7 separate regions of the Homo sapiens genome follow, and regions 1, 2, 3, 4, 5 and 6 are each linked to region 7. Evidence: promoter capture Hi-C in 16 types of primary human blood cells and fetal thymus (Javierre and others, 2016). All regions are on one chromosome and are shown on one strand. Each heading gives the region's core, a stretch centred on a gene start or on the middle of the fragment in contact. The rest is flanking DNA. Distances are from core to core; before and after follow the strand shown. Region 1 overlaps POLR1E (RNA polymerase I subunit E). Region 2 has its middle 7.5 kb from the start of FRMPD1. Region 3 has its middle 2.0 kb from the start of FBXO10. Region 4 overlaps FRMPD1 (FERM and PDZ domain containing 1). Region 5 has its middle 8.6 kb from the start of POLR1E. Region 6 overlaps FBXO10 (F-box protein 10). Region 7 holds the start of ALDH1B1 (aldehyde dehydrogenase 1 family member B1).

Region 1 (2,835 bases), core at 292-2,791, 900 kb before region 7:
CTTATTCACAGGTGAGGTAGTGATCACTCTGGGATGCTGAGAGTATCCCCATAGTGACACAGCTAGGAGGGGCAGCACCTACCTGTCCTGTCCCCAGTAACCAGGTTTATCTCATAAACAGATGGATTCTTGTATTGAAGCCTTTGGTACCACCAAACAGAAGCGAGCTCTGAACACCAGGAGAATGAACAGAGTTGGCAATGAATCTTTGAATCGTGCAGTGGCTAAAGCTGCAGAGACTATCATTGATACGAAGGGTGTGACTGGTAAGAAGTTGGAACTTGGGCTAAGAGTCTGCCCATAATGACAGCTTTCTCTTCTCTTGAGATCTTTTACCCACCCACACATGGAATGCTGGGAGCTAGGGCTGGATTCCTTTCAGCCTCTTGCTGAAGGCCTTCTCACGGACAGGTTCTGGAAGTAGTAAGAAACATCCGACATGGCTTTGTCTTCTAGTGATCCACAGTCAAGTACAGGGACAGGCATGGAATGGATACATGCCTGCCGTGCTTATGGTGCTGGGGTTATGGCCTGCAGGGCACAGAGGAGGGAGAAGGCCTCAGGTCTCTCCTTGTGCGTTGCAGGGAAGCTTTGGTCAAAAAGGCTGATGTGTTGATGGAAATGAGCCTCCAGAGGTGGCATTTCACTTTGGGATCAGTGGCTCTGTTTCCGGTATTCAGCAGCTGGAGTATTTAATTGTATTATTTTAAAATGTATTTATTGTTCAAATACATTATAAGAACATAAGAGCAAGTTTGTGTAAGAGTAGCTTTTCTTTTTACCGATTTTGGAGATGAGGTCTTGCTATGTTGCCCAGGCTGATCTTGAACCCTTGGCTTCAAGCAGTCCTCCCGCCTCAGCCTCCCAGGTAGCTAGGATTATAGGCGCACACCACTGTGCCCTGGGCAGAGCAGTTTTTCTATTAAGAATGAAATTCTAGTAATTTTTGGAAAATCTTTCCATACCCTATGATTATATAGATTTCAACACTTTCACAAATTTATTTATTGATTGATTGGAGATGGGGTCTTGCTCTATCACCCAGACTAGAGTGCAGTGGTGCAGACATGGCTCACTGCAGCCATAACCTCCTGGGCTCAAGTGATCCTCCTACTTCAGCCTCCCAAGTGGCTGGGATCACAGATGTGTGCCACCATGCTCAGCTAATTTTTTTAGTTTTTTGGAGAGACAGGGTCTTGCCATGTTGCCTGGGCTGGTCTCAAACTTCTGGGCTCAAGCCATCCTCCCGCCTTGGCCTTCCAAAATGTTGAGGTTACAGGTGTGAGCCACCACACCTGGCTGCGGAGTTATTCTTGTGGGGCAGTTACAGTGTTATATTCTGAAAGTTTTGTTCCACCTACAATGTGTGGCAAGTTTTTCTAGAAGTTAAGCCATTAAAGGCTATTTTGGACGTCCCTCACTTTTAGTTTCTCTCATTTTATATTGTAAATGTTTATGTATTAGCACAGCTGTCAATCCCAACTCTATTGTAAGTTACCTGAGGGGAATCTTGTCACCTCCACCTTCTCCAGTGCCTAGCTTGTGTTTGTTCATGAGTGAACATGGCAGTCCTGAAGCAGTCAGCCTGATGGGGAGGCGAGGTCACTTTGGCAGAAGCATTTAGACTTGGGGTTTCTGGACCATTGGTGGTCTGAAGTGCACAGACTGAAAAGAATGTTGGGGAACTGGAAACAAACAGGGTGATACATGGATTGTTTCTTTATTGAAAAGCTCTGGTCAGCGATGCTATCCACAATGACTTGCAAGATGACTCCCTCTACCTTCCTCCCTGCTATGATGATGCAGCCAAGCCTGAAGACGTGTATAAATTTGAAGATCGTATCCTTCTTGCAGTAGAAAAGCTGCCTTATTTCACAAGTTGAGATGTTTGCACGTGTGTGCAGTCAGGTTCTCTGAGGGTGTCTGTGTTCTGTGACATTCACAAGAGCTCCATCCAAACCTTTGCAGTTGCTCAGTGCTCTTGCCAGGAGGTTAACTTGGCTTCCTCACTAGCTGAGGGACCGGCCCCTGGGATTCAAATCCATTCCTCAGCAAAATGCCAAATGCCCACAGCTTAGACCTGTGGGGCTCACTCTCCATGGAGAGTCAAAATAAGAGTTGAACCAGCCAAATGCCCAAAGTCTAGGGCAGACCACTTTTGTTGAAGGAAGGGTTGGAGCTTAGAATTTCACCACCCAAGGGGTCCGGTCAGAAGGAAAATGCCTGCAGTGGCTTTGTGATGAGAAAAAGCAGAAAAGCCTGGGCAGGGAATGGGCTCTGGGCTGGGAGTCGGAGAACTGAGTCACCAAGCTCTGCCCCTATGTGATCTGCCCTGTGTGATCTTTGGCTCTCTGAGCCTGTTTCCCTGTCTGTGAAATGCCACTGCTATGAGATGACCTAGCTAGTTGGATGTTTCTATTTTGGTTGGATTATATTCTTGACCTGTAACTAGTTCTTTCCCCTGCGGAGTATGAAGCTCTTCAGAGCCCATCTGAAGCTTTCAGGAACGTCACGTCAGAAGAAATACTGAAGATGATTGAGGAGAACAGGTACCCTGACTTAAGCAGATGGGGATTCTGGGGAGTGCTGTTGGGACCCAACAGTAGTCAGACACTGTGCAGGTCCTCTGGGCGTCAGTCAGTGAGGAAGTGTGTCTGGAGCATTGGACATGAATGAGCCAGTGTTTTCTTGAATGTTTGGGCTTTCAGGAGCTGTGGGTCACATTCGAGGGAGAGGGCTGGTCTCTGAGTCCGTGGGACCTGCGACAGGGCAGAGGGTGGTGAGGCCTTCTACTCTGGGGCTGGGAACTAGAGCTGGCCTGTGTCACCCAGTGTC
Region 2 (2,700 bases), core at 43-2,542, 750 kb before region 7:
ACAATCACCATGGGAAATATGCTCCAAAAGCTGTTTTCACCTGTTGACAGAACAGAGGAGGGTAGCAGAACCCTCCCAGATTTAAATTCTGACTCAATCACCAACACCAGCTATCTGGATGATCTTGAGCAGGTTACTTAACCATGTAGAGTCTCTTTGTCTGCAAAAAAGACACATGATACTTGCTTGTTGGAGTTTTTGTGTTAGTATATTAAAAATACATAGCATCTAATAGGTGTTCCTTTCCATCCTTAGAGCCTTCCCATAGGCTGTTCTCTCTGCCTGGAAGCTCTATCATCCCTCTCCCCTTCAATAGCTGACTTGGACTTATTATTTAGTTTCTTTCACTAGATTTCTTGGATTTGAATCCAAGCTCTTACTAGTTGAGTGACCAGGGGAACATTTGGCCTTGGTTTTCTCATTTATAAAGTGGGGATATTAATATATAATTCATAGGGTTATTAAAATGAGATAAACCGCTTAGAACAGTGCCTAACAAATATTAGGTCTCAATAAAATTTGGCAAGGACGATTTGTGGGATCCATAATTCCAGAGGGCTCTGTTTCCTCCTTCGGTAAGCTATTCACATTGCCTGGAAGCTCATGACATTTACTCTTTATTCTAGGAGTTCAGAAATTTCACCAGGATATATTTTTAAATATCCATTCTGCCAATCTTTGTCTTTTAATTGGTGTATTTAGATTATTTACATTTAATATAATTACTAAAATGTTAGCACTTAACTCTGCTATGTTGTTATTTCTTTTCTTTCTGCACAGGGGAAAGTCTTGGAAGCTTTCTCTCCCATCTGTTTGTTCCCCATTTCTCACTCCTCTTTTTTCTTTTTCCTGCCTCCCTGTGGAGTACTTGGGCTTTTTAAAGAATTCTACTTTGATTTATCTAAAGTATTTTTGAGTGTATCTCTCTGTATAGTTTTTAAAGTTGTTGCTCAAGTATTAAATCATACATAAATAACTTATTACAGTCTACTGCTCCTGACATTTTACCCTTTTCAGTGAAATGCCCAGGACTGGAAGTTCTAGGTGTGTGTTTTAAAATTAATACAGTGTAGAAATTAGAGTCTTTTTTACCTGATAACTCAAGTCCATACATTTAATGTATAGGTAATTCAAGTGCATACATTTTATCTGATAATTCAAGACTATGGGCTTAGTCTTTTTTTCTATTATATTTTGGTTATTGCTTTGCTCCTTTGTTATTTTTTTCCTCCATTTGGTACTATTATTTGCATATCTTCTAGATATTTCATCAATGTTTTAAAACCCTCTGACTCATAATTTCTATTTCTTTTTAATTTTGGTTTGGTACTGTGGGGTAGTTCTCCTTTTTCATCTTTCAGATCATTAAATCAGTTTTCAGTGGTGTTCATTACATTTTTCATTTCCACAATTGCAAATTTAAAAAATTGTGTATTTAACTTTCAAAAACAATTTTTCCTCATTTTGATCATTTCTTTCTAGTCTCTGCTTGAATCTCCTTACATTTTTGATTTTAAAAAGTTAGTTTTTCTTCTATTAAATTGATCTCAATGTGATTCCTCTCTTTTAGTTATTTGTCTTGGTTGTGCTCCTTCAAGCTATTGACTCCCTTTAAATAATCTCTGATCTGCTTTGGCTACTTATATCCACAAGTGGGTAAGTTGGGCTTTTGTGGCCTCTTGGGTACAATAGTTCAGCGATCATGAAAGGAAAGAATGATGCTTCTCCAGTGGCCTGGTGGTGAACAAAGCTACCTGGCTGGGTCCACCAGGCTGAGGTGAGGTGGAAGAAGCTTTTAGGATCTTTGGACACTCCCAGAATTAATAGGGTGGGGTTGCGCTGCTGTGTGCCATTGTGTAGTTTGCTTATTGCAAGGGCATCTGGTGGAGAGGATTAATAGGAGCCAACATCCACTTGCTGAGCTGTGTACCCTAGTGTGGAGCTACATTGGCCCAAAGGAAGGAAGCATATTTTCTCATTTTCACAAAGGTATCTGAGAGGGGAAGCTTTTTTCTAACCCACATAAAGATGCTGTGTGGGCTAGGTGTGACCCTGAAGGGATAGTTTGGTCCACCTGTGACATTCGGTTCTACAGAGGCAGGTCTTGACAGAGTCAGGGGTCTTCCCACAGAGCTATTTGCAGGAAGTGGGCAGGGACAGTTCTTCCTCTCCTGTTGAGAGGTCCTGCTTAGTTGGGGTAGCTGGGCCCCTCAGGTAGCCCAGGATTGAAAGCCTTCACTGCAGACTCACTAGCGAGGCTGACTAGTTCTCAGGCTCCTGGGCCTTTGTCCTTCTTGCAATGGTGGACGGTGTGGCAGCAACACCGCCCTTTGCCAATCCTGCACTGCGATTGTCTGTGTGGGATTGGGCTCCAGCTATAGGCAACAGTGTCCTATGCCCCATTCACTGTATGGCTCACAATTTGGGTCCCCTCAGCAGGGAGCTGGGTAAGAGAAGGGCTTGGAAGGTGGCCCCCCATCTTCAGAGAAGCCCCCTGGGTAGGCACGCTAAGGTGATTTAGGAAGTTTCTCTATAACACAGTTCTAATACAGCCATCTTTCCTCCCCAACAATAGAGCTCAGTTTCCCAAATAAACCTGAATCTGAATCCCATTTACCAGCTCTGTGACCTCATACCAGTCGCTTGAATTCTCTGAGCTTGCCTCAGTTTCATCTGTGAAGTGGGGATTGTCATGTGTGT
Region 3 (2,700 bases), core at 152-2,651, 810 kb before region 7:
GAAAATGCACGGAAGGAGCTGTAATTTAAAAATAGGGGCCAGGTGTTCATGCCTGTAATCCCAGCGCTTTTGCAGGCCGAGGCTGGAGGAAAGATCACTTGAGCTCAGGAGTTCGAGGTTAACAGTGAGCCATGATTGTGCCACTGCACTCCAGCCTGGGTGACAGGGCGAGACTCTTGTTTCAAAAATAAAACTAAATAAATTAGGGACCAAGGAAGGGTAGTCAAGGAAGACCTCTCAGAGTAAGATAAAGAGTTAGCCAAATGGAAGAGGGGCAGGGTAAGCCCTGTGAAAACTCTTGGACCAGGTGGGTTGGGTTGGAGGAGAAAAGATCGCTCTTTGTGGAAATGGAAAACGTCTAGCTTGTCTGAAGCTTTTTAACGGGAAGAACAATATAAGTGAGGTCAGAAAGGTAGGTAGGGGCCAGATCACGCAGCACTTAATAGGCCATGATAAGGATTTTAAAATTGTACGTAACAGGAAGCCATCGAAGGGGTGGAGGATTTGATACCTTTTAAAGCAGTATGTCAGCTACTATGTGAAGACAGGAGTTAAGGGTGGAAGCAGAGATTGGTAGCTTAACCTATTAACTGGGCCCGTGGAGGTGCTATTTATTGAAATGGGAACTATTGTAAGGGGAATATATTTGGAAGCGGGGGGAGATCAAGAACTCCCATTTGAACTTGTTAAATTTGACACTGCCAGTTAGAATGACTATTAACAAAAAGACAAAAAAATAACAAATGCTGGTGAGGACATGGAGAAAAGGGAACTCTCATACACTGAATTATACAGCCAGTATAGAAAAATGCATGGAGGTTTCTCAAAAAAGTAAAACTAGAACTGCCATATGATCCAGCAGTCCCACTGCTGGATATTTATCCAGGAATGGAAATCAGTATGTCAAAGGTATGCCTGGATCCCCATGTTTATTGCAGCACTATTCGCAATAGCCAAGATATGGAAGCAACCTAAGTCTTCATCAACAGATGAATGGATAAAAAGAATGTGGCATATATACACAACAGAATACTATTCAGCCTGTCATTTGCAGCAACACAGATGGAACTGGAGGTCATTATGTAAAGTGAAATAAGCCACGCATAGAAAGACAAATATCACATGTTCTCACTCATACGTGGGAGCTAAAAAGTTGATCTCATGCAGTTGGCAAGTAGAATGACAGTTACCAGAGGCTGGGAGGGGAAGGGGATAGAGAGAGGTTGGTTAATGGGTACAAACATGGATAGAAGGAATAAATTTTAGTGTTCAATAGCACAGTAGGGTGACTGTAGTTAACAATAATTTATTGTATATTTCAAAATAGCTAGATTTAAATGCTCCCAATACAAATAAATGATAAATTTTTGAGATGGATATTCTAAATACCCTGATTTGATCATTACGTATTGTATGCATGAGTCAAATATCACATGTACCCCATAAATATGTACAATTATCTATCAATTAAAAATAATTAATTTTGAGATGCCTGTGTGTCATCCAAGTGGAGTGATTAAAAAAGCAATTCACGGCTGGGCGTGGTGGCTCACGCCTGTAATCCCAGCACTCTGGGAGGTCGAACGGACGAATCACGAGGTCAGGAGTTTGAGACCAGACTGACCAACATGGTGAAACGCCGTCTCTATTAAAAACACAAAAATTGGCTGGGTGTGGTGGCGCGTGCCTGTAATTCCAGCTATCAGGAGGCTGAGGCAGGAGAATCGCTTGAACCTGGGAGGTGGTGGTTGCAGTGAGCAGAGATCGTGCGCCACTGCACTCCAGCCTGAGTGGCAGAGTGAGACTGTGTCTCAAAAAAAAAAAAAAAAAAGCAGTTCACTTGTAATCCCAGCTACTCAGGAGGCTGAGGCAGGAGGATCGCTTGAACCCAGGAGTTTGAGACCAACCTGGGCAACGAAGCAAGACCCTGTCTCTAAAAAAGAAAAGGAGTTGGATACAGACCTCCGGAATTTACGAGAGAATATCAGCTATAGAAACATAATTTACCAAGAATACTATGAAAAAGAAATTATTACACGAAATTGTGGCCTGAAATAATTGACCCCGTGGTCCTACTGACCTTTTTCAGTCCCTGGTTCTATAGAATATATTCCATAAAAATGTATTCCATCTATTATTACCATATGGTGAATGTGGTATGATTCTGGGTGAGGTCTAAGTTACCATGTAGCTGGTCTCTTTTATAAATAAGAAAACCAAACACTAAAACCTAAAGCCAACAATTTATTTTAAGACACAAAGTTGTACAGTAGCTAGGTATAGTAGAAAGACCACAGGGGTAGTCTCACACTGCAATGAGCCTGATGATTTACCTTGCTGACTGACAAAGCTATGCCATATTTAATCCTTTGAAAAGTATCTTACTCCATGAAACTGGCAGTCCAGATATGACTGTCAATAAACAATCAAAAGCTTGAGTTTCTGGATTTGTGCCAGCTAACATTATCATTTTGGTATTTGTATAAAACAGCTGACTTTCAAAGTGCTACAGCAGTGTCCTACAAGAGCAAGCTGTCTTCCCTATTAGTGGGGCAAGCATCACGTGCCACATGGGAATTTTTGTTTGTTTTGAGATGGGGTTTTGCTCTTGTCGCCCAGACTGGAGTGCAATGGCATGATCTTGGCTCACCGCAACCCCCACCTCCCAGGTTCAAGCGATTGTCCTGCTTCAGCCTCCCC
Region 4 (2,700 bases), core at 172-2,671, 670 kb before region 7:
ACATGGTGAAACCCTGTCTCTACTAAAAATACAAAAATTAGGCTGGGCACAGTGGCTTAGGCCTGTAATCCCAGCACTTTGGGAGGCTGAGGCGGGTGGATCACCTGAGGTCAGGAGTTCAAGACCAGCCTGGCCAACATGGTGAAACCCCATCTCTACTAAAAAAAAAATACAAAAATTAGCTGGGCATGGTGGTGTGTGCCTGTAGTCTCAGCTACTCGGGAGGCTGAGACAGGAGAATTTGCTTGAACCCAGGAGGTGGAAGTTGCAGTGAGCCAAGATTGCACCACTGCACTCCAGCCTGGGTGACAGAGTGAGACTCTGTCAAAAAAAATAAAAAAAATAAAAAAAAATAAAAGCCAGTCGTGGTGGCAGGTGCCTGTAATCCCAGCTATTTGGCAGGCTGAGGTGGGAGAGTCGCTTGAACCTGGGAGTCAGAGGTTGAGTGAGCCGAGATCGTACCACTGTTCTCCAGCCTGGGTGACAGAGAGAGACCCTGTCTCCAGAAGGAATAAAAAAAGACAGGGATACAACAATACTCTTGTGTTTTCCAGGGTAATTCTCTGCTGTGTATGCCCAACGTGCTCAAGCTATACTTGGAGAATGGACAGACCAAAGCTTTCAAGTTTGAGGCAAACACAACCGTGAAGGTATTAAGAATAAACTTGAACTTCTTTTCCCAAGAAGAATGTTCTGGCTGCTAGGACCCCCCAGGCATCTTGCCCTGCATCTGCCTTGGTGGTCTCACAAACACCGTGGTCTGAGCCCCTGTAATAATAAGCCAGGTGCCATGTTATCTCATTTCGTTGCACGACCACCCAGAAAGATGGTCTTTTTACCACCATCGTAACTGGGTGGGGGTTAAGGGGTGGGAATCGGGACTTAGAGAGATGAAGTGACTTGCCCAAAGGTCAGATTAGAACTCCTAAGCCTTCACCCATAACCACCAGGCTTCCCTGCCATTTGTCTGTGACTCTACCTGCTACGCCAAACACTACGAAAACCCAGGTGAGATGTCAGGAAAGGCCCAGGCGCTGCCTATTCTGTTCTTGGTTAAAGTCAATTGAACTTATACTTCACAAGTTTCCCCATATGAGATGATCTGAGAGGGGTTACTGAGCTTAGTCAGGGGTGGTCTCGATCTTCAGGAGCTTGCAGTCTAGTTGAGGGACGGTGGACGTTCAGGGAATGCTTGATTGTCCAAGGCAGGATGAAATAAGGGCCAAGTGCAAGGGGAAGAGTACCATCTCTTCCAGCCTGTCCAGACTTCAGACAAGGCATGGGAAAGAAGCTGGACCTGCGCTGAGCTTTGGAGGATAACTAAGATTTCAACAAGGGCCAGTAGGGACAGGGCAGTTGAGGGTAGGGTACATATCAATCAGAGAGTCACGTGAACTAATGCAGAGAGCCAGAAAAATGGCAATTGCCCAGGAAATAGCAAACCATCCAGCAGGACTGGGGCACAGGCTGTTTTCTTGTGGAAGGAGTGGCTGTGGAGGGCCTCAAATGCCAGGCAACAATAGAGCTTGAGTTTTATCCATAGATAATATCGTATGGTGCTAGCAGTTCTTGAACAAGGGAGTAAATAGTGTTAGAGTGAGGCCGCAGTGAAGAAGCAAAGTTGTTCAAACAGTAAAAACCATGTAAGAGGAAACATTGAGCCCAGCTCTTCTGGTACAAGGGGAGAGCAGGTTCAGGAGGGCCAATGCAGCTATAGGGGACAAACAGTAGCCAAGACACACATGCACACACACATCTGCACAGTACATTCACACACATGCATATGCATGCACACATATGTACAATGTACATACACCTGTACGCACACATCCAGTGCTTCTCTCTGGCACCTTCATTTGGCAATTCCTACAGCTGCTCCAAATGCTCTATTCTATTTCTTCCTAAATGTGAGTTAGAAGAAGCTGGAGAAGGGCTTTCTGAACCTGGGGAACTCCAAGCCCAGAGGAGGAAGCAATGGAGGAATAGACTTTAAGTGTTTACTACATGCCAGGCACGCTTCCTGGGCACTTTCTTGTATACGATCTCATTTAATGCCCTAGCAACCTTGTGAAGTAACTAGTGTTATCCCCACTTTGCAGAAGAGAAAACAGGCCCAAGAGGCCCAAAAGCTGTCAAGATCAGCTAGCTCATAACTGGCTTTGAACTTGGTCTGTTTTTGAATCCTGTGCTGGAATCTTGTCACTCTGCCATTCTGCAGAAAAGGGAAGCTTTGCAAATGGATTAGACAAGAGTTCTACTTTCATCATCTTTGCTCAAAGTGGATTGGAATAGAAGGGTTGATTTTTTTTAAAGCAAGTCCCCCTTTGGTGGCCAAAAGGACTTTGAGGTAGTTTACAATAAAGGCCCACATTACAGGGGAATTAAACTTAAGATGACAGAGAGAGTTGGGGAAATGAACAAGGACTTAGCCAGTATAATACTGGTTAATCTTATTTATCTGTAATAGCCAAATTTTTTAAAGCAAAGTCTTTAGCTGTTTACGACACAGAGAAAGGTGGACATAAATAAATCTTATGAGTGAAAAAAGGAAAAATTACTGTCCACTCATCAGTGACTTCTCTTCCCCTTTCCCTCACTAAGGGAAGAAAAGTTCTTGTATTAGAAAACCCTCTTTCTCTAAACCAAGAAAAAGAATATGTCATTTGACCCAGTAAACATTTATTGACACTTTTTGTGTGC
Region 5 (2,700 bases), core at 44-2,543, 920 kb before region 7:
CCCAAGTAGCTGGGATACAGGCACCTGCCACCATGCCCAGTTATTTTTTTTTTGTATTTTTAGTAGAGACAGGGTTTCACCATGTTGGCCAGGCTGATCTGGAACTCCCAACCTCAGGTGATCCAACCGCCTCAGCCTCCCAAAGTGCCAAGATTACAGGCATGAGCCACTGCACCCAGCCTTGTTTATTTTTTGGTAGAGACAAGGTCTCACTATGTTGCCCAGGCTGGTCTCGAATTCCTGAGCAATTCTTTCACCTCAGCCTCCCAAAGTGCTAGAATTACAGGCGTGAACCACCATGCCCAGCCCCTAGTCACTTACTAAAGGCCCCACCTCTTAATACTATCACAATGGCAATTACATTTCAACATGACTTTTGGAGGGGACATTCAAACCATGGCAATATGTGAAGCCAACAAAACTGACAGAACCAGGCCGGGTGTGGCGGCTCACACCTGTAATCCCAGCACTTTGGGAGGCCAAGGCAGGCAGATCACTTGAGGTCAGGAGTTCAAGACCAGCCTGGCCAACATGGTGAAACCTCATCTCTACTAAAAATACAAAAAAATTAGCCAAGCATGGTGGCAGGTGCCTGTAATCCCAGCTACTCAGGAGGCTGAGGCAGGAGAATCGCTTGAACCCAGGAGACGGAGGTTGCAGTGAGCTGAGATCGCACCACTGCACTCCAGCCTGGGTGACAGAGTGAGACTCTGCCTCCAAAGAAACAAAAACAAAAAAACCTGATAGAACCTAAAAGGGCAATTCTAGAGACTCAGCAGTATCCACCCTATAGTATGCTTTTTCCATTTTCTGTGTTCCTCCTAGGAAGTTAGTTCCTGAAGCCAAGGATCGTAGATTTTAATTCTTATATCTTTTGAAATGTCTTGTACAATGTTAGAAGACAGCATGAGGATTTTAAAACATCTGAAAATTGTTCAGCGATAAATTTGACTGTGTATTAAGAATCCTTTTTAGGGGTGGGAAGGAGGACCAGCCGAACCCTCATGTGGGACAGAGTGCGTGTGTGGTGTGTCCCCAAGGGCAGGAATTTGGCGAAGGGAGGTGAATCAGAGTGGGTGGAGGGAGGGGAAGGGCGGGAGGAGAAAAAGGTGGGAAGAGGACCAGGTGGGAGGGTGGCAGCTCACTCAGGAACCCGCGGGGGCAGCGCAATGAGGCGGGTGACCCTGTTCCTGAACGGCAGCCCCAAGAACGGAAAGGTGGTTGCTGCATATGGAACTTCATGTGATTTGCTGTCTGTGGCCAGCAGTAAACTCGGCATAAAAGCCACCAGTGTGTATAATGGGAAAGGTGGACTGAATGATGATATTGTTTTGATCAGGGATGATGATGTTTTATTTGTGTGTGAGGGAGAGCCATTTATTGATCCTCAGACAGATTCTAAGCCTCCTGAAGGATTGCTAGGATTCCACACAGACTGGCTAACATTACATGTTGGAGGGCAGTACTTTACAACTACCTGGAGCACTTTAGTGAATAAAGAACCTGACATTATGCTGGCCCACATGTTTAAGGACAAAGGTGTCTGGGGAAATAAGCAAGATCATAGAGGAGCTTTCTTAATTGACCAAAGTCCTGAGTACTTTGAACCCATTTTGAACTACTTGCGTCATGGACAGCTCATTGTAAATGATGGCATTGATTTATTGGGTGTGTTAGAAGAAGCAAGATTTTTTGGTATTGACTCATTGATTGAACACCTAAAAGTGGCAATAAAGAATTCTCAACCACCAGAGGATCACTTACCAATATCCCGAAAGGAATTTGTCCGATGTTTGCTAGCAACTCCAACCAAGTCAGAAATGCGATGCCAGGGTTTGAACTTCAGTGGTGCTGAACTTTCTCATTTGGATCTTCGATACATTAACTTCAAAATCACCAATTTAAACTGCTGCAATCTTGCACATGCAAATCTTTGCTGTGCAAATCTTGAATGAGCTGATCTCTCTGGATCAGTGCTTGACTGTGCAAATCTCCAGGGAGTCAAATGCTCTGTTCTAATGCAGAAGGAGCATCTCTGAAACTGTGTAATTTTGAGGATCCTTCTGGTCTTAAAGCCAATTTAGAAGGTGCTAATCTGAAAGGTGTGGATATGGAAGGAAGTCAGATGACAGGAATTAACCTGAGAGTGGCTACCTTAAAAAATGCAAAGTTGAAGAACTGTAGCCTCAGAGGAGCAACTCTGACAGGAACTGATTTAGAGAACTGTGATCTGTCTGGGTGTGATCTTCAAGAAGCCAACCTGAGAGGGTCCAACGTGAGGGGAGCTAGATTTGAAGAGATGCTGACACCACTACACATGTCGCAAAGTGTCAGATGAGAATTTTAGGGGCTGAAGGAAGATGTGCAAGATGAAAATGTTTTCCTTATCGCTTTTCTTTCTCCACCCACTCAGTTGTCTAGAAGAAATAACACTGTCAGCAAATTTTAAAAAATCATTTAGAGGATTATGCTTGTTTTCAGCATGCATAAGGGAAAAAACTGACTTTTTTTTCCATATTCTGATTTTTAACGCAAAAGCACTCATTCAATAGATGTAGGGAAACTAGATATTGCTGCCTTTTGAATGGGGTAGGGGAGTTTACCTGGTTTTATGACCACGAATAGTATCTATTGTATTTGCTTTTAAATAGGCATGATGTGGAAATGCCCTCTTGGTTTGAGATGCATTTGAGGATTTTA
Region 6 (2,700 bases), core at 21-2,520, 880 kb before region 7:
CACGATCGGGGCAAGTTCTGCTGGCCCTTAAAGCTTCTACCCAGAAGTGACCATTAACCACTTCTGCCTACATTCACTGGGCAAATCAGGTCCCATGGCAACGTGAGAGGGCATGTACTCTCCCTGAGGGGCAGCAAACAGTAACTACCAAAACCAATGAATATTTTCATTTTAATAGTTTAATGTATGTTTATAGTAATATAAAAAGTCTTTTCAGTGTGTGAAAAAAAGACATGTTGTAGGATGGGATCCTGGAATGGAAAAAGGACATTAGGTAACAAACTAAAGAAATCTGAGGCCAGGCACAGTGGCTCATGTTTGTAATCCCAGCACTTTGGGGGATTGAAGCAGGCGGATCACTTGAGCCCAGGAGTTTGAGACCAGGCTAGGCAACATGGCAAAACCCCGTCTCTACAAAAAAATACATAAATTAGCCAGGCGTGGTGGTGCATGCCTGTAGTCCCAGCTGCTCAGGAGGCTGAGGTGGGAGGATCACCTGAGTGAGCCTGAGGAGGTCAAGGCTGCGGTGAACCATGATCACACCACTGCACTCTAGCCTGGGCAACAGAGTGAGATCCCGTTTCAAAAAGAAAAAAATCTGAATAAACTATGGACTTTAGTTAATAATGTGCCAGTACTAGTTTATGAATTTTTACAAATGTACACTGATAGCATAAGATGTTAATAACACAGAAACTCGGGGGTGGCAAGGGTGATATGGGAACTCTAGTAATCATCTGTCTGCTCAATTTTTCTGCATATTTAAAACTTCTAAAAATTAAGTAGATTTAAAGAAAAAAGTACTAACTTCTCAGGTGACATATGGATATAGCAAAAATTCTAAGATGCTGAGTAAGTGAAGTTGGGGAAGTGTGCTCCGGGGTCTGAGGTCCCTAAGCTGACAGTCCAGTGATCCATGGGGACGGCCTGTTTCTGTTGTCTTCACAGAGCAGGCAGGAGTGGAATTATAGCCCGATTGAGCCCTTCAGCCCTATATCTGGAACTGTCACAGGAACAAGCTGACCCAACAAGATGGCCCCAGGATTCTCCTGTCTCCTTCAGAGGAAACAGTGCTGGGCCTGGCCAGCTGGGAGCCCCAGTATATGCCCAGACTAAGGAAAGGCTTCCAAAAGTGCCTTTTTTAAAATATAGAACTTTATTTTGGTTACTGAGGTTTTTGTTACTGTTGGTTCACAGAAAAGTCATTTCTTAGAAAATAGTAACGGCAGCATTTTTTACAGCGACTCACATTGGGGCCACCAAACAAGTGCAAAGGACAGTGCCAGGGATAGAAGAGGCCAGTACTCTTGTGCCCAGTGTTCTCAGGGAGAACCCAGTGCTCCTGGCTCCCTCTACCCCCTCCCATCCCACCCAACAGAGCAGCACCTAGGGCCAATAGAACCAGCCACGCAGCCAAGTGCACGACAGTGACCCCAGCAGGCTGGTGAAGGCCCCACAGGAAAGGCCGAGTGGGAGGGGATTGTTCAGGTTGAGCTGGCCCTGCATCCAGCCCTCTTCCTCAGGCAGTGGGGTCTGACCTCACCTGGCTTTGGGACTTGGACATATTCACAGTACGGTTCAGTAAAGTCCTCTGGGAGCTGGCCTTCCTCTCCTCACTCAGGCCACTAATCCTACCCCAACCCCAGGCTGGATCTGGGGACACACAGTCAGAAGTGGCCCTACCTACGGGGAGCACACAGGTGAGTGGGGGGTCAGGCAATGGACCCAGATAGCTCCAGGACAAGGCAGAAAGTGCTCAGTACCCTGAGAGGGAGCAGAGAAAGGCCACTGAGGCCCAGAGGGGGAAAGAGGGCAGGGAGAGCTATGTGGAGGTGGCAGTGTCTCGGCTAAACCTTGAGGAACGAGGACACGGAGATGGGGGAGAAGGGCATGCCGGGAGGAGGAAAGAGCATGAGCCAAGGCACAGAGTGGGGAGGCTTGGGAGGGTCAGTAAAGACCAGCGCTCATCCATGAGAACACAGATGCGAACGAGAGGCCCAGGTACCCTCATCTGAACAGGCTGATGCTCAGGAGGGGCGGCTGGTGTGGGCACGCTCACATGGGGTTTGAATCCTTCTGCATTTGGGAGCTCTCTGGGGATGGAGTAGAGCCTTGTGCATCCCTGCCCACCCAGCCTAGCATCTGCCTGCACGCTGCAGCCCCACCTGTTTCAGCATGTCCCTCTTGTCATCCCTGGGGCAGCCTTTCCATGGGGTCTCCTGTTGCTCCCAGGTCCTTCCTTCCTCCCAGGTCCATGTCCAAGTCCTCAAGTCAACCAAACTCAACTCCTCCAGCCTCCAGAGACAGCTGGGAGGGTGTGGTGGGGTCCCTGGAGGGATTGAGAGGGAGACAGCTCTAGCAAAGGGGAAAATTCTGGAGCAGTTGTCTCTCTCCACCTCACTAGAATCACTTCCCGCCATCAGAAGTAAATCTGCTCTTTCCTGAGAAGAGTCTGGGTTTGGTGTGTGTAAAACACAGTTCCTTAGAACTCAGAGAAAATCCTGACCAAAAGCTTCAGCATTTGAGCTTCCCCCGCTCTTCACAATCTTTATAGACTTCGAGTGACTGGAAACCCACCAGCTTCTATCCCTTCTCCCTGAAAAACATTGCCCACTTTCTTCTTGCTATGGGCTGTGGAGCTGAAGTGTTCTGGAGGTACCGTGTTTTGGAGGCCCGGGACCCATTTGTTCGAGGGGGAGG
Region 7 (2,700 bases), core at 188-2,687:
TAAGGAAAGAACTAAGTGAATTAGGTCCAAGCAGTCGCATGTGAGCACCCTAGATCAGTGGAGAGGCAGGGATTTAATACAAGGAACTGGGTGCTTACAGACCTGCTGCAAGTGCCGGAGGCAGAAGCAAGCCTTAGCCAGACCAGGACCAACTCTCAGGACAATATGGACGTGGCCCACCAGCCTCGTGCCTGTCTGAGGCTACTTCAGACACCCTCCTGCAGCCTCCATTCAAAGAGCAGGAAGCCAGGTCAAGGAGCGGCTACAGCCACAGCGGCCGGTCCACAGCCAGAAAGCTGGAGAAGGGACAAGGAATGCTGCCGCAGAACATCTCCCATTTCTGCTATCCTGCTAGTGCCACCCTACAGGGGCAGGACAATACCCTCCAATGCGTGCCCGCCTTCCACATCCGGCAGAGTACTACTAATTGGCAGCACCTAGTCCACATCCAGAACTCTAACTGCAAATGAGGCTGGGAAACATGGCGGTTAGCTTTGGGACCTCCCTAGCCAGAAGGAAGGTGCAGCGAGGGTGGAGCGAGTGAGATGCATGTTCAGTGGTCCATCTTGGCAACCTTTATAGCAACAAAATGGAGACAATTAAATGTCCAACAGTTTACCCCTACAACAGAATTCTATGCCACCTTGGAGAGGATGATGTCATCTGTAATTAGTGATAGGAGAAAACTTCAAAATACAGCGCTAAGTTTTTAAATTTTTTTTAAAGCAGCACAACAGAGGTTACTATATGATTTTATTTTTATTAAAATAATTTTGAAAGATGCAGAGGAAACAATACTAGCAGGACGAACACCGTAATAATGGCTACCGTAGGTGAAGAGATTACAGGTGATATTTTTCTTCTTTTTTCATCCTTTCCTGTGTTTTCCAAGCTTTCTACACTGTGCATACATTCTTTTTGTCCTTAGGACAAAAATGTACTTTGAAAAATGCCCAAATATAAAATCTTCTTGAAGGAACTGAAGAAAGGAGCAGTGAAAGTGGAGGACAGAAATTAGTGAATCCTGGACAAAAAAAGTGAGGGAGAGGCGAGGCAGAGAAGGGGTTAAGGGGAGTCTCAAGGATGGCAGTCGATTAAGCAGCGTCTTGCAGCGGGGAGAAATGCAAAGTGTAGTTGGGGTTCGGTCTCCGAAAACTTTGCTGTGTGACCTGGGGAAGCCCCTGCCCCTCTCTGGGTATCTCTGTTTCCGCTCCCAAACCAGTGCCTTAGGAGCCTAGATCTGAGCAACGTGGACACTGGGCTTGCGGAGACCCGAGGGAGGGAGCGCTGAAGCGGTGCGGGCTGCCGGGGGTAGAGGGGCGGGGACCGGGAAAGACCGGGCGGGGCGAGGGAGGAGCGGCCTTGGCCGGCGACAGGACGTAGGCAGCGCCCCAGGCGCAGGCGGAGCCTCATTGGCCGCTGAGCCCCGGGCTGCGCGGAGGCGGGACCTGCGGCCAGCCCTGGGCGGCCATGTGGACAGAGCTGGGAGGGCCGGAACCAGAACCCAAGCGTGATCCTGAACCGGAGCCCGAGCCTGCTGCAGGTAACTAACGCTGGTCTCCCCTCGGCTCCCTCGGGAAGCCGCAGCTCCTGGCTCCGCGTGGGGGCTTTCCTCTCTGGGCCGCGGCGTCCGCATCTGGGGGCTGGCCTTTCCGCCGTTGCACTGTAGGACTCTCTCCACGTCCCCTAATCCCATCCCCCGCCTCTGGGTGACGCTACAGGAGCCCCGAGGACACAGACGCCCCCAGACCTTACCACGTTAGCTCGACCTCAACACTCCTGCCCACTCGGCCCACTTCAACAGAGGGCCCCTGACCATAGCCCAGAGGCTTGGACAAGCCCAAAGGTTGCGCCCTTTCCCCCGCAGAAGGGGTGAGGTGGGCGCCGCTGCAGTTCCCGCGGATAGAGAAGGTCCGGTCCTTCCCGCTGTGGGTGAACTGTAAAAAATTGCCTGTATTCAGGAGGATATGCAAAGCTAGGTTTGTGGAAGTCTGGGGTGAGGCTCCTATACTTTCTTGCTGTGTGTCCTCGGTGAGTCCCTGAACCTCTCTGATGCCCAGCCTTCTTCCAGAATGGGGGTCATCATCAACCCTGACCACCCAGGGACTGCAGAGAGGCTTGGCAAATTTCCCGTGAGAAGACAGCCTGCAAACTGTAAAGCATGATGCTCTGTGAGCTGTGATCTTCCTATCAGCAAGTGGAGGCCCCAGCAAGAACCCCATATAGGCCCCAAGAGTAGGAACGGCCTTGGTGTGGCTGCAAAGGTTTGCCAGCCTTGGCCTATGACCACCTCTCCTGACTGCTTCACCCCTCCAATCCTTACCCCATGGGTTGGTGACTCCCCTTTCCCCTACCTCCTTTTGGTCTCCTCACCCTCAGAGCCAGGCCTGTTGGTGGCAAGGGGGCTGTGTCCCAGCATATGGCAAAGTCCTGAGCTAAATGGAACCCTGGGCACCCCTGGCAGATCTGCTGACTCAGCTTCCCCCTGTGGGATATGATGAGGTTTCTCTTCAAATAATCTGATCAATCTTTTATTCTTTAATTCTTAGTATCCCCCCCTTTTTTTTTTTCATTTTTCTCCTTTTTGCCTTTGTTAGATGCCCAGGCATGCCACAGTACCAAGCGTTATCAGTACCAGCTCACATTCCTTTGCTTATTTGGAAAGAAGACTAACTTTCTAGCTCATTACAGACACCCTTT

Evidence for each region. Contacts are between HindIII fragments. The CHiCAGO score rates a contact against its expected background, and 5 or more counts as called.
Region 1: a contact is called between a fragment that was not itself captured here and the fragment with the promoter of ALDH1B1 in region 7, in 2 of 17 cell types (endothelial precursors and M2 macrophages). The highest score is 5.4, in endothelial precursors.
Region 2: a fragment that was not itself captured here is called in contact with the fragment with the promoter of ALDH1B1 in region 7 in 1 of 17 cell types (endothelial precursors); the score reaches 5.0 in endothelial precursors.
Region 3: a fragment that was not itself captured here is called in contact with the fragment with the promoter of ALDH1B1 in region 7 in 2 of 17 cell types (M0 macrophages and endothelial precursors); the score reaches 7.4 in M0 macrophages.
Region 4: a fragment that was not itself captured here is called in contact with the fragment with the promoter of ALDH1B1 in region 7 in 3 of 17 cell types (endothelial precursors, M0 macrophages and M2 macrophages); the score reaches 7.5 in endothelial precursors.
Region 5: a fragment that was not itself captured here is called in contact with the fragment with the promoter of ALDH1B1 in region 7 in 1 of 17 cell types (endothelial precursors); the score reaches 6.5 in endothelial precursors.
Region 6: a fragment that was not itself captured here is called in contact with the fragment with the promoter of ALDH1B1 in region 7 in 1 of 17 cell types (endothelial precursors); the score reaches 5.3 in endothelial precursors.

Annotation. Positions count from the first base shown.
Region 1 is chr9:37,493,438-37,496,272 of GRCh38, forward strand. POLR1E (RNA polymerase I subunit E) reads left to right here. Exons shown (of 12, transcript NM_022490.4): 6 at 122-266; 7 at 1,732-1,839; 8 at 2,453-2,549. Among named protein-coding and RNA genes, the nearest start is that of POLR1E, 8.9 kb to the left of the region's middle. The HindIII fragment of the contact is 1,908 bases long and covers 588-2,495 here.
Region 2 is chr9:37,642,080-37,644,779 of GRCh38, forward strand. It overlaps a transcript of FRMPD1 not described here. Among named protein-coding and RNA genes, the nearest start is that of FRMPD1, 7.5 kb to the right of the region's middle. The HindIII fragment of the contact is 996 bases long and covers 795-1,790 here.
Region 3 is chr9:37,577,005-37,579,704 of GRCh38, forward strand. No RefSeq gene overlaps it. Among named protein-coding and RNA genes, the nearest start is that of FBXO10, 2.0 kb to the left of the region's middle. The HindIII fragment of the contact is 2,060 bases long and covers 372-2,431 here.
Region 4 is chr9:37,723,671-37,726,370 of GRCh38, forward strand. It overlaps FRMPD1 (FERM and PDZ domain containing 1), which reads left to right. Exons shown (of 16, transcript NM_014907.3): 7 at 555-650. Among named protein-coding and RNA genes, the nearest start is that of TRMT10B, 29 kb to the right of the region's middle. The HindIII fragment of the contact is 1,610 bases long and covers 617-2,226 here.
Region 5 is chr9:37,475,980-37,478,679 of GRCh38, forward strand. It overlaps the pseudogene KCTD9P3. Among named protein-coding and RNA genes, the nearest start is that of POLR1E, 8.6 kb to the right of the region's middle. RefSeq lists an enhancer at 1,152-2,351. The HindIII fragment of the contact is 4,652 bases long and covers 1-2,700 here.
Region 6 is chr9:37,509,759-37,512,458 of GRCh38, forward strand. It overlaps FBXO10 (F-box protein 10), which reads right to left. Exons shown (of 11, transcript NM_012166.3): 11 at 1,134-2,700. Among named protein-coding and RNA genes, the nearest start is that of POLR1E, 25 kb to the left of the region's middle. RefSeq lists an enhancer at 1,808-2,364. The HindIII fragment of the contact is 2,479 bases long and covers 32-2,510 here.
Region 7 is chr9:38,391,265-38,393,964 of GRCh38, forward strand. It overlaps ALDH1B1 (aldehyde dehydrogenase 1 family member B1), which reads left to right and starts at 1,438. Exons shown (of 2, transcript NM_000692.5): 1 at 1,438-1,543. RefSeq lists a silencer at 1,205-1,524 and enhancers at 1,735-1,784, 1,825-1,914. The HindIII fragment of the contact is 5,526 bases long and covers 891-2,700 here.